Regions from separate parts of the Homo sapiens genome. Here region 2 is linked to region 1. The links are contacts of gene promoters, found by promoter capture Hi-C in blood cells and fetal thymus (Javierre and others, 2016). All regions are on one chromosome and are shown on one strand. Each heading gives the region's core, a stretch centred on a gene start or on the middle of the fragment in contact. The rest is flanking DNA. Distances are from core to core; before and after follow the strand shown. Region 1 holds the start of IKBKE-AS1 (IKBKE antisense RNA 1). Region 2 overlaps C1orf116 (chromosome 1 open reading frame 116).

Region 1 (2,635 bases), core at 74-2,573:
TTCCCATGCCTGTGCCACTGCTGCTCCCACGGCCAGGAATGCCTCCCACACCTTCTTTGCTAGGTATCACCTGCTCACCTGCTAAGACCACTTTGGATTCACCTGTTCTCAGTCACTCCCTGACACTTAGGAAGTTTCCCAGCCTGACCTAAGCACCCTCCCCTGTGAGGATGGTGACTCAGGACCACACTGGATGTTTGCATTCCTAGCATAGCACCTCCTCCATGATGGGAAGCTATCTGTGGCATACCTGTCTTCCCCCATAGAGGTGAGCTCCCCATGAGCCAGAAAGGTGGCTTAGTCACCTCTGTAGTTCCAGCATCCCGTGGGCCTGGTACACTGTAAGGGCTCAGATCATGTCTGGTGAACTGAATGGGCTCTTTTCATTTTAAGTGTTATGTTAGGAATCACTGCAGAGAATGGAGAGGTACATTAAAGAGGTCTTCAGACACCTGAGGATCTTATGGGTTGTTCTGGGTCTTGGTCCAGTTCCTCATTTCCTACTGAGATGGAATCAGCAGCTCTGCAGAACCTCAGATCCAGGGAGGCACTGATGTCAGCAGCTCTGCCTTGCATAGAAATGAACTGAAGCCACTGGGCGTGGTGGCTCACGCCTGTAATCCTAACACTTTGGGAGGCCAAGAAAGGAGGGTTGCTTGAGCTCAGGAGTTCAAGACCAGCTTGTGCAACATAGTGAGACCTCATCTCTACAAAAAATATAAAATTAGCTGGGTGTGGTGGTGCACGCCTGTAGTCCCAGCTACTTGGAAGGCTGAGGCAGGAGGATTGCTTGGTCCTACAGTGAGTAGTAGTGGTGATCGCTTGATCACTACAGTGAGTCGAGGCTGTAGTGAGCCAAGATTATACCATTCCACTGCAACCTGGGCAACAGAGCAAAACCCTGCCAAAAAAAAAAAAAGAAGGAAAATTAAAAAAAAAAAACAACTGAACTGAAGCCTTTGAGTGAGTTTGTCCGCCACATCTCATAGGCTTTGCTCATGAGATCATACAGCCTGGATCATATCATCTCCCAAAAATCTGTATTTGGCATTCAGGGATCCCCTGGCTCCTTCACTGAGCTCCACCAAGCACATGGGGTTTTGCAAGCTGTTGCTGCCAGGGAAAACCCATTGTGGGACTTCCCTGAAGGGCCACTCATGGGCTGGAAGTGTTGGCCAGAAATTCAGGCCAGCAGAGTGGACGAGAGGTGGTCTAGTACCCAGGAACATCAAGGCGGCAGCTGGTCTCTGAGGCCCCAGGACTTGAACCCCTGGGCTTAAGTGACTCCACGGGCTTGAGGCCCAAATAACAAACACAAAGCCACTTGGACCTGATGCAAGGAAACAACCTCCAGCCACCTTCCCCCAGGCCTTTAGAGTGCTGGTCTTTGCACAGAGAAGCACCACAGAGGACAGAAGCCTCCAGGACTCACCCTTCCCCATTTCTGGCCCTACCAGGTGAGTAGAGTGGCCTCAGGATGTGGGGGCTCCCATGAAGATGGACAGGAAGGATCTCTGGGGTTATTTCCAGTCAAGCATAATGCTGTCTTCACGCTTCGAAGCACACAGTGGGGCTTCCCACTCGTCTCTCTCTCCTACTGGGGCTACCTTACTGCATTTCCCCTTCCCCTTCCTTCACCCACCCAGGTAGGTGGGTAGTCCAGCTCTGGTTTATGGGAAGGCTGGAGGTAAATTTGCAAGCAGTTTGCAAAAGTCAGAATGCCTTGCCCAGGCACCACTCTAGATTCTAGACAAAATGAAGGAATGCTTAAAATAACCCATAATACTATTCAAACCCACTATTTAGGACATAGCCTAGGTTTTGAATAGCTGTGGAGATGGGAAAAAAGCAGTAGCCACTTAGATGGTGGGTTTGAAGGAAAAAAAAAAAGAAGAATACCTTTCTCCCTAAGTTCCAGGCCCCTCACACAGCTTTCCAAATGATGCGGGGGCAAGAGAATGGAAGGAATGGGAAGGCACCCCTTGGGTTCTTCCTTGAAATTAGGGCCCATTTAGGGGAAAGGCAGAAATCAGGACATGACCAATTCCCACCCCCATTTCCCAGCACTTCTCACAGATCCCCGCCCAGACCCCACTTGGTTGCCAAGCACACCCAGCTGAGAGCCCTGCCTTGCAGACACAGCCCAGGGAGAGCCACCAGAAACAGAAGCAAAGGCCACATTTATTCCACTTCTTGAAGGTGCAGGCCTTGGACCTGCCCAGACTCACAGTCCTGGCTGCATGTCCCAGGACCAGCTGGAGCCTCAGAGAGTGAGGGAGAGCCAAAGGGGCCCCAAGACACTGGCACTGGCCTTGGCCACCCATTTTCTCAACTTTAGGCTCAGTCAGACCAAGCATAGAAAGAACAGGAGGCTCTCTATGTTGCCTGAGGCTGGCAGTGGTGACCCTCAGAAATCACAAGGGAGCGGAGAGAGCTGTGTTCAACATGAAACGCTTGAAGAGGAAGGAAGACTGTGATGAGGTCGTTTGACCTACTGCCCTGGGGAAACCCCAGGAGGCCTCCTCTCCTGTTGGCTAGGGAGTGAAGTCCTATAAACCAGAGGGAGTGGGAAGGCGTATGAGAGCTTCTTCTCCCCACGGCCCAGCCATGGGCATGGAGGAGCAGTACCTGAGCC
Region 2 (2,635 bases), core at 72-2,571, 530 kb before region 1:
TATATGCATGTATAGGTCATTCCCTGTTTCCCTTAGGAAGGGCTAGTGGTAAGAGCCATAACTTTCTCACCCGTAAAATGAAGAAAACGTCACATCCTGCCTATGTTTCCAGTTTATGCTGAAGATCGAATTAGCATATCTGAGAGTACTTTGCAAGCTATGGCATGCTGTGTTCTTGTGAAGCAGTGCTTTTCCTACCACTTTTATCTCTTCCAGCTACTTGAAGACATCCTAGGTTCTGAAACAAAAGTGTGATAAGCTTCCCTGGTAGGAAAGAGAGACTAGAAAACCTCTGTAAAGTCTAAAGCATACTTAGAAGCACAAGGGTAGTAATTTTCTCTGAAAGTAAGAGGCAGCATCTGCTCACCCATTCATAGAGAATATGATGTTAATTACAGTGAGTCACTTTAAATATTTACTGCCCTGATTTTACAGAGAAGAAAATTGGAGCCCAAAACTAGACCCTTAGATCTACATTGACTTTTTGACAACAATGCCTTTGTCTTATACAGTTTTGTAACACCAGCGCCTATTATTAGGTGCTCATAAATGTTAGTTTAACTGAAAACATTGCCCAAATTTCACTGAGCCATATATTATCCAGGAAATTAAGTATTTAAGTAAAAGCTGACAGTTATAGGTTAGAAACCAAGAAGAAGCCTTCCAAAAGCTCAACCTAATAGACCCTAGAACAGATGGCAAGTTCATTCATTCGGCATTTTTTGAGTGTTTTCTGTGTGCCTAGACTCACAGAGATGGAGCTCCTTTGCTATAGTGGCCTCAACCCTACACAATGTTAGGAATGGGTTAGTCCTCCCTGAACTTGGGCATCATTCATGGAGTGGGTAGCTGAGATGACTGAACTTCATCCACATGATTTCTCATGTTCCTGTTTCTTTGAGCTTCTGGGTATTGGGGAGCTAACCTCATGAAGAAACCCTAAGAGCTTCCTCACCCCACATTTATTTATCATTGGGCTTCTTTGGTGTCTCTGCCCCTCCAGTCCCCTCCTTATCTCCTAGGAGGATCTGGACCCCTATGAACCAGATGTCTGGCTCACTAGGGATCTCTCCTGTTTTCCCCCCAGTGTTCTGCCCCTCCATACCTGCCCCTTTTAAGAGACTCCTCCCAAGCAGAAGAGGAGCTCCTTGGGGCTCCATACTTGCCAGCTCTATAGGGATGGAAAGCTGACTCACCCAACCCAGCCCAAACTTGACTTTGGCACTGGAAGCAATTATTACCAGAGGCCAAGAGGACATCTGCCCTGGCATCCAAAGCCCAAGCCTCCAGATCTCAAATAGATCACGTTTTCTTCTAGGACATTTTACCTAGTGTTGGGAGGGTTGGAAAGATGAAAGAAAATATAGGATGGCATTATAAGGAAAATATGGATTTAGAATCAGACAAACTTTATTCTAATTCTGGCTCTCCTCCAACTCTCTGTTTGATCTTGGAACTGTCTTTTCATCTTAATTCTTTTAGAATTTCATTTTAACATAGCAGACTCACTTCTGGCCTGCCATCTCCAGTGGAGTATTTCCCACAAACAGCCACATCAAAATCCTTGGGACTTTCAGAGGGAAGATGGCACTGCCTTCCTTTGCTACTACTATTGTTACAATGACATTGAAACTTTTTTTCCCTAAGGAATTAGAGTTGGGAGGAAGCTACATGGGACATTTCTCTTGTTCATTTGACATAGGCTAGGGAATCTCATTGGGAATGTGTGCAACAACAGAGGCACTAGAAAGAAAGAGATTCACTAGAAAGAAAATAGGTTTGTGTCAACCACTGCAGGTGCCCTGTTCATGCCTCCAGGCTAGGGAGTTAAAGATGGGTATCGTAGCGGTGGTTGTGATGATGTTGATGATATTGACTGTGATAGCAGGTGACAATTTGCTCTGTGCAAAGTGTTTTAAACGTTCTCACAATAACCCCATGAGGTAGGTATTATTAAGGGACCTGTTTCTTCTCTCAAGTCTACAGTCTCCCATCAAACCAGAACCCTTCTTTTCTGAGATCCTGTTTCTCTTGTTTCAATTTAGTTTGATCCTAGATAGATCTTGTCTTTTTCTTGTTACAAGAACAATAATAGTTAATTATTGACTCATGAGGTCTTAGGGTATTTACTACCAACTAAACTGTGCTAACTGTTCTCTCATTTAATCCTTATACTAACATTATTTAATGAGGAAAAACAGACTCAGAGTAATTTGCCCCAAGTCACATAACTGTAAATGGCTAAACTGGGATTTGAGCCCAGACCCAACTAACTCCAGAACCCAAGGTATTGACGCCTGTAATATTTATTGCTTATAGTAATGAAAATGTAGATTAAGCTCCTTGGTTCAGAGAAAAATGTAAGAGAAGTAGTAGAAGCTTCTTTCTGACTAGACTGCCTCTCCACCAACTAAGTCTGTCCTTCTGCATGTATTTAAGCCAGCTTCAGGGTCCTTCCATGCAGGCCGGGGGTGTCGGGCAGTGGCTGTTCATGCCCCCCTTCCAGCTCTCTGCTTGCTTGGTGTCCTTCCCGCCATGCCGCCCAGGGCCTGGGCAGAGCCTTGCCGAAGCCTCGGCTCATGTGTGGCTTTGATTCTTCTCTTTTCAGGCCCGGCTTGGGACATTGTTCACTTCC

What was found. Contacts are between HindIII fragments. The CHiCAGO score rates a contact against its expected background, and 5 or more counts as called.
Region 2: a fragment that was not itself captured here is called in contact with the fragment with the promoter of IKBKE-AS1 in region 1 in 1 of 17 cell types (non-activated CD4 T cells); the score reaches 5.5 in non-activated CD4 T cells.

What each region holds. Positions count from the first base shown.
Region 1 is chr1:206,496,416-206,499,050 of GRCh38, reverse strand. IKBKE-AS1 (IKBKE antisense RNA 1) reads left to right here and starts at 1,323. Exons shown (of 2, transcript NR_172918.1): 1 at 1,323-1,457. It overlaps IKBKE (inhibitor of nuclear factor kappa B kinase subunit epsilon), which reads right to left. Exons shown (of 22, transcript NM_014002.4): 22 at 2,162-2,635. RefSeq lists an enhancer at 1,229-1,378. The HindIII fragment of the contact is 9,082 bases long and covers 1-2,635 here.
Region 2 is chr1:207,027,653-207,030,287 of GRCh38, reverse strand. It overlaps C1orf116 (chromosome 1 open reading frame 116), which reads left to right. Exons shown (of 4, transcript NM_023938.6): 2 at 2,609-2,635. Among named protein-coding and RNA genes, the nearest start is that of C1orf116, 3.8 kb to the left of the region's middle. The HindIII fragment of the contact is 2,120 bases long and covers 262-2,381 here.